Linked DNA regions of Homo sapiens: regions 1, 2 and 3 are each linked to region 4. Evidence: promoter capture Hi-C in 16 types of primary human blood cells and fetal thymus (Javierre and others, 2016). All regions are on one chromosome and are shown on one strand. Each heading gives the region's core, a stretch centred on a gene start or on the middle of the fragment in contact. The rest is flanking DNA. Distances are from core to core; before and after follow the strand shown. Region 1 holds the start of ZNF256 (zinc finger protein 256). Region 2 overlaps ZNF329 (zinc finger protein 329). Region 3 has its middle 9.0 kb from the start of ZSCAN18. Region 4 holds the start of ZNF749 (zinc finger protein 749).

Region 1 (2,978 bases), core at 469-2,968, 510 kb before region 4:
GGTAGGTGTGGGATCCAGGTGCAGCCTGCTGGGCCGAGTGGGTGGAACAAGCCCAGCGGGTGTGAGCAAAACTCAAGCAGAGGCGCGACCACAGAGGTTTCTGGCTGGCGAAGCGACACCCATTATTAGTAGCTTTCTGTAATTTGTATTTTACAATTCTTTTTCTGATATCGTATCAATTTTTTATGCAGAACAGCCCTATAATAATGGGGGCAAAGGGCCGGGCACAGTGGCTCACGCCTGTAATCCCAGCACTTTGGGAGGCCGAGGTGGGTGGATCACCTGAGGTCAGGAGTTCGAGACCAGCCTGGCCAATATGGCGAAACTCCGTCTCTACTAAAAATACAAATACAAAAAAAAAAAAAAAAAAAAAAGATTAGCCGGGTACGGTGGCGGGCGCCTGTAATTCCAGCTACTTGGGAAGCTGAGGCAGGAGAATCGCTTGAACCCGGGAGACAGAGGTTGTGGTGAGCCGAGATCGCACCATTGCACTCCAGCCTGGGCAACAAGAGCGTAACTAATGGGGGCAAAGATAATCATTTCAGCGTTGAGAAGAGATCTTGAATTTAAGATACACCCTACATTTGGGATTCAGAGCACCCTTTGTTCCACCTGTTAATGCTCTAGCTAGCCATCATGCCTTTTCAAAATACCATTCCTTTTGTTGTTCTCTTTCTGAGCTTGATGTCAAATTATTAAAAAGAAGTGAATATAAAGGCATGGAGAAAGTGAGATTAGATTCATGCAAGTGTTGCTTAGTGAATTGGACACAATGTTTGACTACACAGGCACGAGAGGGACCCAGAGACAGGGATCTACTTATGTCCTGCTGCTGCAGGGTGCCTCCGCATCCCACCTTCATCCTCTTTGTCATGAACCTGTGTGGAGTGTTTTTTTTCTTGTCCCTAATCAAACATACAGAGACTGAGAAAACTGACTCCAGTGCTTGAGTGCATGCGTTTGAATTGCAACATAGTCTTTTTTTTTTTTTTTTTTTTTTTTTTTTTTTGAGACAGTGGCTCGCTCTTTCCCCCAGGCTGGAGTGCAGTGGCGCGATCTCGGCTCACTGCAAGCTCTGCCTCCCGGGTTCAAGCTATTTTCCTGCCTCAGCCTCCGGAGTAGCTGGGGACTACAGGCGCCCGCCACCACACCCAGCTAATTTTTCTTTTTTTTTTTTTTTTTGTGGTATTTTTTGTATTTTAGAGACGGGGTTTCGCTGAGTTAGCCAGGATGGTCTCGATCTCCTGACCTCGTGATCCGCCCGCCTCGACCTCCCAAAGTGCTGGAATTACAGGCGTGAGCCACCGCGCCCGGCCGCAACATAGTCATATTTATTTGCTTTCTCAACCAGTGGATATATTTTGTGACTGACTGACTGTATGTAATAATATGTGCATCTGGATATGTGCCTCTGGGAACACATGAAATGACACGTCTCCAAACAAACACTGGCAGACAGCAATCGGTAGAAACCTGGGTACGTCTCCTTTAAGAAAGAACGAAGCCTCGCCTCCGCCCCAACCTGGAGTGTCCATTTCCCAGCGCCCCCTACAGGGGTTTGGCCTTTACTTCCGGAAGGAGGTGGAGGCGACCCTCACTCTCCCGCCGTGCGCCTGTGGGAACATTACCCAGAATGGCCTGCGTTGGGCGACGGCGACCTTCAGCCAATGAGGCCTCCGAAAGGTGGTGTTTCCGTAAGCGCACGCGCGGTCGCGGCGGGACTTCCGTTGTCCTCCTTGTGGCGGTCGTTTTGGCATTTGTCTGGACTGATTACTTGGTAGAAAGCCCCGGAGCGCTGGGTCAGCATCATCCGTGACTGACTGAGAAGGCGCGAGAGGAGTCTTCCCCGCTGCACAGAGGCGTGGCTGAGGCTCGGCGGCGCCCAGGGTACCCAGGCCCGGCCCGGAATAAGGACATCCTCTCTGGCCCCGCTCCGCTCACAGAGTCAGATGGCGGCGGCCGAGCTGACGGCCCCGGCCCAGGTATGTGCCGCGTCCTCTGGGCCTTCCCCGCCCTCCCCACGCTAGTCCTAGCACCCCCGAGGGCGCTTGCTCGCGGCCCTGCTGCCCAGGACAGGACACGGGGGCTCGCCGGAGGGGCTCCCGTTTCCAACACCTGGTGTGCTAGGGAAGGGAGGGCGCGACTGGCAAGGAGCCCCTGATGAGAGGCGCCACTGAGCCCTGGGGCACAGAGGTGACACAGCCATTGCGAGGGCACCCGGCTCCAAGGCCAGGCATGGGGCTACGGGGTGGCTTGAGCCCATCTAATACCGCCATAGATGCTCTTCTCTGAGGCCTGGCTCTTTCTACGTTTCCCTTGGCTGTAAAGGGTTATGAAATCTACGCCAGGAAGGGGAGGGTTTCCCAGTCTCTCACTAGCCCTAACTCCCACCCACAGGTTCTCTGGGTTGTGGAGTGCCATTCCCCCAGCCCTTAGTTCTGAAGACCTTGGGTGAACCCCAAGCCCAGGGTCCTATGTCCATGTTAGCCGGTATATAGAGTTGTTCCAATTTCTGGCAGCCATGTGAACGGGTGTGGAAAGTTTTTCCAGAAAGGTACAAGATGTGCAAATGCTTAGGTGCAGTACGGAGCTGGGTGCATTTATGAAGCCACAAGTCTCCTTGCTTTCTGGTGGGAAGCAAAGAACAGGAGGATAGGCGTCAGGACTGCAGTGGCTGCCTGAGAAGTTGAGTGTGTTTTCAGGAGGTAATAGCAAGTTTGAATCAGAAAAAAGAGGTAATTTACCAAGGTCTTCACAGGCTTCATCTGTGTGCACAGTGGGGCACAAACTGGGGGGTTGAGGGAGGAGGAAGGAAAATCAGGGTAGACTAGTCCAAGTGAGGGTTACTGGCCCAGGATCGTGATTTAGGAGATGTGGTTAGATTCCGGATGTGTGGTTTCAAAAGGGACAACTAAATTACATAATGTAGGTGGTGAGGGAGTGAAACAGAGGGTTCAGAGAAGACTCCAGGGTTTTTG
Region 2 (2,893 bases), core at 323-2,822, 690 kb before region 4:
CAGTTTTTTTTTTTTTTTTTTTTTGAGACGGAGTCTTGCTCTGTGGCCCAGGCTGGAGTGCAGTGGCACGATCTTGGCTCACTGCAAGCTCCGCCTCCCGGGTTCGCGCCATTCTCCTGCCTCAGCCTCCCGAGTAGCTGGGACTACAGGCGCCCGCCACCACGCCTGGCTAATTGTTTGTATTTTTTTAGTAGAGACGGGGTTTCACCACGTTAGCCAGGATGGTCTCAATCTCCTGACCTTGTGATCTGCCCACCTCGGCCTCCCAAAGTGCTGGGATTACAGGCGTGACCACCGCGCCTGGCCGACATGATCCAGTTTTTATAACAACCATGCAGGGCAGTCTTTGACAGTTTTTGTTTTGTTTTGTTTTTTGAGATGGAGTCTCACTCTGCCGCGTAGGCTGGAGTGCAGTGGTGTGATCTCAGCTCACTGCAACCTCTGCCTACCAGGTTGAAGTGATTCTCCTGCCTCAGCCTCCAGAGTAGCTGGGACTACAGGCATGTGCCACCACGCCTGGCTGATTTTTTTTGTATTTTTAGTAGAGACGGTGTTTCACCATGTTGGTCAGGCTGGTCTTGAACTCCTGACTTCAAATGATCCACCTGCCTCCACTTCCCAAAGTGCTGGGATTACAGGAGTGAACCACTGTGCCCCGCCAGGTCATTGACAGTTCTAAGACTTAGACCCAGAACTTTTAGGTCACCAAGCCTGTGCTTTGTCCTATCCATGAATGCAGAACTTTGATGACAGAGCTGGGGTGAGAACTGTTCCTTCAGTGCTGTTGTAAGCTCATTGTGAAGTCAGAGCTTTGGAAATGTGTACTGATGGGCAGTGTGTGACAGGGACAAGAATGCAGTGGCTGGGATGGAATTCTAGGGGGAGCAGGGATGCTTGGCCTCTGGTCTCTCACATCTCAAACTAATCCTTTTGGTGATGATTTATCCCGAGGTCCATTCCTCCTGCCTGCTCTCTAGGAAGATGAAAATGCTACATGGCTCTTTTTGAATCTGTTCTTGGTTCCATTCCTTGGCTACGATTTTACCTCTTCCTTGTATAAATTTGAATTTAAAAGAGAAAACAAGTAAAAAAATACACATCTTTACACCTAGCCCATCATCATTGTCTGTTTCTCTTACAGATAAAGCTTCATATACCTAAGTCTGCATTTTTCTTCTTTTTGCAGTTTGGGATATGAGATTGAAAATGACGACTCGGAATTTTCCTGAGAGAGAAGTACCCTGTGATGTAGAAGTGGAAAGATTCACAAGGGAAGTTCCCTGCTTGTCCAGTTTAGGTGATGGTTGGGACTGTGAGAACCAGGAGGGACACTTGAGGCAATCAGCTTTAACTCTGGAGAAACCAGGGACTCAGGAAGCAATTTGTGAATATCCTGGTTTTGGGGAGCATTTGATTGCAAGCTCAGACCTTCCACCGTCTCAGAGAGTTCTGGCAACAAATGGTTTCCATGCACCTGACTCAAATGTTAGTGGTCTGGATTGTGACCCCGCCTTACCCAGCTATCCTAAAAGTTATGCAGATAAGAGAACTGGTGACAGTGATGCCTGTGGAAAAGGCTTCAACCATTCCATGGAAGTTATTCATGGAAGAAATCCAGTGAGAGAGAAGCCCTACAAATACCCTGAAAGTGTTAAGTCTTTTAATCATTTTACCTCTCTTGGTCATCAGAAAATAATGAAAAGAGGCAAGAAATCGTATGAAGGTAAGAATTTTGAGAACATCTTTACTCTGAGCTCATCGCTTAATGAAAACCAGAGAAATCTCCCTGGAGAGAAACAATATAGATGTACTGAATGTGGCAAATGCTTCAAACGGAACTCTTCTCTTGTTTTGCATCACCGAACTCACACCGGAGAGAAGCCTTATACTTGTAATGAGTGTGGAAAGTCCTTCTCCAAGAACTACAACCTGATTGTGCATCAAAGAATCCACACAGGAGAGAAGCCCTATGAATGCAGTAAATGTGGGAAAGCTTTCAGTGATGGCTCAGCTCTGACACAGCACCAGAGAATTCACACAGGCGAGAAACCTTATGAATGCCTAGAGTGTGGAAAAACCTTCAACCGAAATTCATCCTTAATTTTGCACCAAAGAACTCATACAGGGGAAAAACCATATAGATGTAACGAATGTGGGAAACCCTTCACTGACATCTCCCACCTTACAGTGCATCTCAGAATCCACACCGGTGAGAAGCCCTATGAGTGTAGCAAATGTGGAAAGGCTTTCCGGGACGGCTCGTACCTCACCCAGCATGAGAGGACTCACACTGGAGAAAAGCCCTTTGAGTGTGCAGAGTGCGGGAAATCCTTCAACAGAAACTCTCACCTCATTGTGCATCAAAAGATCCATTCTGGGGAGAAACCCTATGAATGTAAAGAATGTGGCAAGACTTTCATCGAGAGTGCGTACCTCATCAGGCATCAGAGGATTCATACTGGCGAGAAGCCCTATGGCTGCAACCAGTGTCAGAAACTTTTCAGGAATATCGCTGGCCTCATTAGGCACCAGAGGACTCATACTGGTGAGAAGCCCTATGAGTGTAATCAGTGTGGCAAAGCCTTCAGGGACAGCTCCTGTCTGACCAAGCACCAGAGAATTCACACTAAGGAGACCCCATATCAGTGTCCAGAATGTGGGAAGTCCTTCAAGCAGAACTCTCACCTGGCAGTACATCAGAGACTCCATAGCAGGGAGGGTCCCAGCCGGTGTCCTCAGTGTGGAAAAATGTTCCAAAAGAGCTCATCCCTTGTTCGACATCAAAGAGCACACCTGGGAGAGCAACCCATGGAAACATAATGGTTGGGGGCCACATGAGTCTTCCAGTTCACTCTCACTCCTGTGTTTAGGAGGCGTGTCTTAGATCTGACTC
Region 3 (2,884 bases), core at 90-2,589, 670 kb before region 4:
TATGAACACAATGGAAGTATCTCTGGAAATGAATACAATGACAGTGAATGTGGACTGTCCGTTAGACCGAAATCTCATTTCATCAGTCACCAGAGGACTCATACTGGAGAGAGCCCTTATACCTGTAATGACTGTGGAAAATCCCTCTCTAAGAATTACAACCTGATTGTACATCAAAAAATCCACACAGGAGAGAAATCCTATAAATGCAAGAAGTGGGAAAGCCTTCAGTGCTGGCTCCACCTTTACCAAGCATGAGAAAACCCACATAGGAAAGAAGCCCTGTGAAAGGAATTGGTATGGGAAGACCTTCAGCTGCCACTCTTCCCTTGTTTTGCATTTCAGAAGTCATACTGTGGAAAAACTATTCGAATGTAATGAATGTGAAAAATCCTTTTCTGATGTCTCCAACCTTATTGTCCATCTGAGAATTCACATGTGAGGGGAGCCCTATGTATGTACTGGGTGTAGAAAGGCCTTCATTGATCACACATAACTTATTAAACATGGGAGAATTCACATTGGAAAGAGACCCTATATGTGTATGGAGTGTGAAAAATTCTCCAACCACAACAGTCAGCTCTTTTGCATCAAAAAAATCATTCTGGAAAGAAATCTCATGAGTTAAACAATGTGAAAAAATCTTTCACTGAGATTATGTACCTCATCAGGCACAAGAGGATTCATACTGGTGAGAAGGTCTGTGGCTGTAACCAGTGTCAAACTTTTCAGGAACATCGCGGGCCTCATCTGGCACCAGAGGACTCATACTGGTGAGAAGCCCTACGAGTGTAATCGGTGTGGCAAAGCCTTCAGGGACAGCTCCTGTCTGACCAAGCACAAGAAGGTACATGCTCAGGCGACCTTGTGCCAGTGTGTCTAGTGTGGGAAAGTTTTCCCAAGTATCTGTGCTCTCGCTAGAAACCAGAGTTGACACATTGGACTGAGACCTATGGGGATTCAGTGAGCATCTGTGGCAGTGACTGATCTGATTTTCTTTGCCTCCTCTTTGTCAGAGACTTCATGTTGAAGAGTTTATGTTGTTTGAAAGTAACAAATATGTTTTTCCATCTATAAATGGAAGAAAAAATCCTGGATGACAGCACATGTGTTTACCGCATGGTGCACTCAATATTTTATTTTATTTTTGAGACAGAGTTTCACTCTTGTCACCCAGGCTGCAGTGCAGTAGTGTGATCTCAGCTCCCTGCAGCCTCTGCCTCTTGGGTTCAAGCGATTCTCCTTCCTCAAACTCCTGAGCAAGTAGCTGGGATTACAGGTACCCACCATCACACTAATTGTTTTGTATTTTTTTTAGTAGAGATAGGGTTTCACCATGTTGGTCAGGCTGGTCTTGAACTCCTGACCTGAAGTGATCTGCCCACCTTGGCCTCCCAAAAGTGATGAGATTACAGGCATGAGCCACCATGCCCGGCCTGTGCTGAATATTTTAAACCCACTGTTGAGACTTCCTCAGAATAAAGATTCCTTTCAAAATATGGCTGCTTGTTGACAAGAGCTGTGATGAAGATGTACAGGGAGATGAATGTTGTTCTCACACCTGCTAACACAACATGTATTCTGCAGCCCATCATAGATCAGGAGTAATTTTGACTTTCCAGTCTCATTATTCAAGAACAGATGTCTTGGCCAGGCACGGTGGCTCACGCCTGTAATCCCAGCACTTTGGGAGGCCAAGGTGGGCAGATCACGAGGTCAGGATTTCGAGACAAGCCTGACCAACATGCTGAAACCTCATCTCTACTAAAAATACAAAAAAAAATTAGCCAGGCGTGATGGTGCACACCTGTAATCCCAGCTACTCAGGAGACTGAGGCAGGAGAATTGCCTGAAGCTGGGAGGCAGAGGTTGCAGTGAGCAGAGATCGAGCCACTGCACTGCAGCCTGGGAAACAGAAGGAGGCTCCATTTCAAAAAAAAACAAAAAAACAAAAAAAACAGATGTCTTTTTTTCTTTCTTTCTTTTTTTTTTTTTTTTTTTTTTTTTGAGACGGAGTCTCGCTCTGTCGCCCAGGCTGGAGTGCAGTGGCGGGATCTCGGCTCACTGCAAGCTCCGCCTCCCGGGTTCACGCCATTCTCCTGCCTCAGCCTCCCAAGTAGCTGGGACTACAGGCGCCCGCCACTACGCCCGGCTAATTTTTTTTGTATTTTTAGTAGAGACGGGGTTTCACCGTTTTAGCCGGGATGGTCTCGATCTCCTGACCTCGTGATCCGCCCGCCTCGGCCTCCCAAAGTGCTGGGATTACAGGCGTGAGCCACCGCGCCCAGCCAGATGTCTTTTTTTCTTTTGAGACATGGTCTCATTCTGTTGCCCAGGTTGGAGTGCAGTGCTGCAACCATGGCTCGCTGCAGCCTCGACCTCTAGGCTCAAGTTGTCCTCTCACCTTAGCCTCCTACATAGCTGGAACTACCAGCATGCACCACCACGCCTGGCTAATTTTTTTTATGTTTTGTAGAGACGGCATCTCACCATATTGCTCAAGCTGGTCTTGAACTCCTGTGCCGAAGTGATCCTCTTGCCTCATCCTGACAAAGTGCTAGTATTACAGGTGTGAGCCATTGTGCCTGGCCTAGAATGCTCTTAATGGCATCTAGCATAGTGAATCATTTCCAGAAGGTTTTTAATTTACTTTCCCTGGATCCATCCAAGGAATCATTACTATCTATGGCAGCTATAGCCTTACAAAATACATACCTTTTTTTTTCTTTTTTGATAAGGATTCTCACTCTGTTGCCTCGGCTAGAGTGCAGTGGCGCGATCTCAGCTCACTGCAGCCTCTGCCACCTGGGTTCAGGCGATCCTGATGCCTCAGCCTCTTGAGTAGCTGGGACTACAGGCATGTACCACTATGGCCGGCTAATTT
Region 4 (2,707 bases), core at 194-2,693:
ACTGGTCCGTTCAGCAAACAGGTCAGCCTGCCATATAATGCAGTAAAGGGAGCTTGCTGGAGGCCCTTAACTGTGGTGGAGGATGTGAGAAAGCCCTGCCCAGTTTTGGACCCAGTTGCTGCATGGCCTTATCTTGTTCCCTAAAGAGTGGCCCTCAGGGCCAGCTGAGTTAGAAGGGTGGAGTGACTACAATTATCTCATGCCTCAGTCTCTGTATTCCAGGGCAACTCCTTATCCATCCAGGCCTCTTTTTCAACAGAAACAGACCAGACTCTTAGCCCATATCTGCTCCCTTCTGCAGGGAGTATCAGAGATGCCCTCCCTACCATGGTCTTTCCTCCAAATCTGAGCCCTCCCCTACCTCAGCCCATATGAAAAAACGATGTAGGATTCTTCCTTCTCAATCTGATCCACAGGCCAACTTCTCAAGTGCACAACTTCTAACTCATTTAAAGCTCCAGGCCAGCTACCTTCCCTCACCTTTGGAAATTACGTCCACCTACCCATGTGATGTCGCCCAAAATCCAACCCAGGATCTTCTGTCTGAAACCCGCTCCTTAAGCTGATATCTCTAATTCCATTCTTTCAGATTTTTCAGGCCAAAACAAAACCTATGGAAGACACCATTCACTACCGACTTTCCCTCACAGCTATGTTTGATGCAGCAGGAAATCCTGTTGACCCTATCTCTGAGATCCATCCAGAGTCTCATCACATCTCCCCTCTACTGCAACCCCTCTGGCCCAGCCCTACCATAACTCAAGGGGTCTCCTCAGCGGTCCCCCTGCCCCCGTTCAACATCCTGTTTTCCCCAACTTTAAACTTCTAACTCTGGGCGTGACCCTCCCATTCGTCCTCCCTGCACAGCCCTCTATGGCTCTCTGCGGCTCCACTGCCCTTCCAGGGGAGACTCCGCCTCAACCTCTGCTCCTTGGAGACAAAGACGCTCGGGCTCCCCAGTGCCGCCCGTTCTGCAGTGCCTCCAAGCCCCAGAGACGTGTCGGTCTCCGACGGGAGCTCCCCCGCCTCATCGCACCGCAGTCCCAGTCCCGGGCACCCCACACAAGAACGCCCCTCTCTTAGAGACACAAGGGCCTAACCTGCAGGGCGGCTCCTTGGGACTTCAGCACTGGGAGGAGGGGTTGGGCGGGGCGGCCTGGGACGCTGCACGCACCTCGGTCAGGTTCATCGGCGCGGCCTCCTCCAGTCCACCCAGGGAAGAGCGGGGCGGGAACGGCGGTCACCTGGACGCTGACGGAGGCAGGGGCGCCTGCAGCCGACTCAGCCGATCCGCACTCTAGCCTCTGTGTAGAAGGAACACCGCTTCTCGCGTTTTTCCGCTCTTTCACCTCAGTCCCGACCCAGAGCTCTGGGACCCTCTAAATCAGTGAACAGATCCCTAGGTAGCCATGCTAACGCAACCATGAGGGCGCCGCCAGAAGTCCCGCCCACACAATTGAGACCTCATTAGTCGTCTCTCTGCTAGACCAATGGCTACACTCGCTGCCCTGCCCCCGCAGTGTCTTCTGGGTAATGTAGTTCTCACGTTGCTGCCTGTGTCGCCCGCAGTGTCTTCTGGGTAATGTAGTTCCCACGCTGCTGCCTGCCTCGCCTCACAATGCTGGGCGCGCGGACCTTACGGAAAAAAGCTGGAGGCTCCTGGAGGAGCGTTAAGAAATGCAGTTCCGGGGCTCTTAAGGACGTGGAGGGGCTTTGCTGACTCCTAAACTGCAAGTAACCAGATTTTCCCGGAGAGCAGTCTAGGACAAGTCTGAGAAATATTTCAGAGACCTGTCGTTTCAGATTCTCTGAAGCACAGCAAGTCCCGAAAGGAAGAACATCAGAAGCGACATGGCTGACCATAATGAACTGGTCCTCCATTCATAGCGGTCAGCTCTTTTGTGCTTGTCAAGTACACACATACTGAGGCTCTGGAGACTTTTTTTTGATCGTTAGTGTGCTTCTGTTGGGACAAGAAAGAAAAGACCCACACAGGATGTGATGGAGAGTTGAAGGAGGAATATCTTTCTGTCGACGAAAAGGGTGGAACTTTGTGAAATAGTTGAAGAGATTTATTCTGAGACAAATATGAGTGACTAATGGCCCATGACACGGCTCCAAGATATCCTAAGAACATATGCCCAGGGTGGCCCATCTACAGCTTGGTTTTAACAATTTAGGAAGACGTAAGACATCAATCAATACATGTAAAATGTACATTGGATTCCTCTGGAAAGGCGCAACTGGAAGGGAGGGGCGGGGCTTCCAGGTCAGGTGGGTTCAAAGATTTTCCGATTGGCAATTGGTTGAAAGAGTTTGTATCTAAAGACCTGGAATCAGTAGAAATGGTTGTCTGGGTTAAGGGGTTGTGGGCCGGGCGTGGTATCTCACGCCTGTAATCCCAGCACTTTGGGAGGCCGAGGTGGGCGGATCACCTGAGGTTGGGAGTTCGAGACCAGCCTGACCAACATGTAGAAACCCCATCTCTACTAAAAATACAAAATTAGACGGGCATGGTGGCACATGCCTGTAATGCCAGCTACTCGGGAGGCTGAGGCAGGAGAATCGCTTGAACCCGGGAGGCGGAGGTTACGGTGAGCCGAGATCTCGCCATTGTACTCCAGCCCGTGCAACAAGAGCGAAACTCCGTCTCAAAAACAAAAAAAGACAAGGGGTTGTGAAGACCAAGGTTATATCATGCAGATGA

What was found. Contacts are between HindIII fragments. The CHiCAGO score rates a contact against its expected background, and 5 or more counts as called.
Region 1: the fragment with the promoter of ZNF256 here is called in contact with the fragment with the promoter of ZNF749 in region 4 in 6 of 17 cell types (naive B cells, naive CD8 T cells, naive CD4 T cells and 3 more); the score reaches 8.0 in naive B cells.
Region 2: a fragment that was not itself captured here is called in contact with the fragment with the promoter of ZNF749 in region 4 in 4 of 17 cell types (total CD8 T cells, non-activated CD4 T cells, naive CD4 T cells and 1 more); the score reaches 9.9 in total CD8 T cells.
Region 3: a fragment that was not itself captured here is called in contact with the fragment with the promoter of ZNF749 in region 4 in 1 of 17 cell types (non-activated CD4 T cells); the score reaches 5.7 in non-activated CD4 T cells.

Annotation. Positions count from the first base shown.
Region 1 is chr19:57,946,446-57,949,423 of GRCh38, reverse strand. It overlaps ZNF256 (zinc finger protein 256), which reads left to right and starts at 1,718. Exons shown (of 3, transcript NM_005773.3): 1 at 1,718-1,982. The coding sequence starts at 1,950. RefSeq lists enhancers at 1,480-1,569, 1,640-1,739, 2,230-2,309. The HindIII fragment of the contact is 12,388 bases long and covers 1-2,978 here.
Region 2 is chr19:58,127,805-58,130,697 of GRCh38, reverse strand. ZNF329 (zinc finger protein 329) reads left to right here. Exons shown (of 4, transcript NM_024620.4): 4 at 1,187-2,893. The coding sequence starts at 1,195. The coding sequence ends at 2,820. Among named protein-coding and RNA genes, the nearest start is that of ZNF329, 22 kb to the left of the region's middle. The HindIII fragment of the contact is 846 bases long and covers 1,150-1,995 here.
Region 3 is chr19:58,105,827-58,108,710 of GRCh38, reverse strand. It overlaps a transcript of ZSCAN18 not described here. Among named protein-coding and RNA genes, the nearest start is that of ZSCAN18, 9.0 kb to the right of the region's middle. The HindIII fragment of the contact is 4,764 bases long and covers 1-2,884 here.
Region 4 is chr19:57,434,061-57,436,767 of GRCh38, reverse strand. ZNF749 (zinc finger protein 749) reads right to left here and starts at 1,443. Exons shown (of 3, transcript NM_001023561.4): 1 at 1,175-1,443. The coding sequence starts at 1,189. RefSeq lists enhancers at 879-928, 1,559-1,858. The HindIII fragment of the contact is 4,352 bases long and covers 1-2,707 here.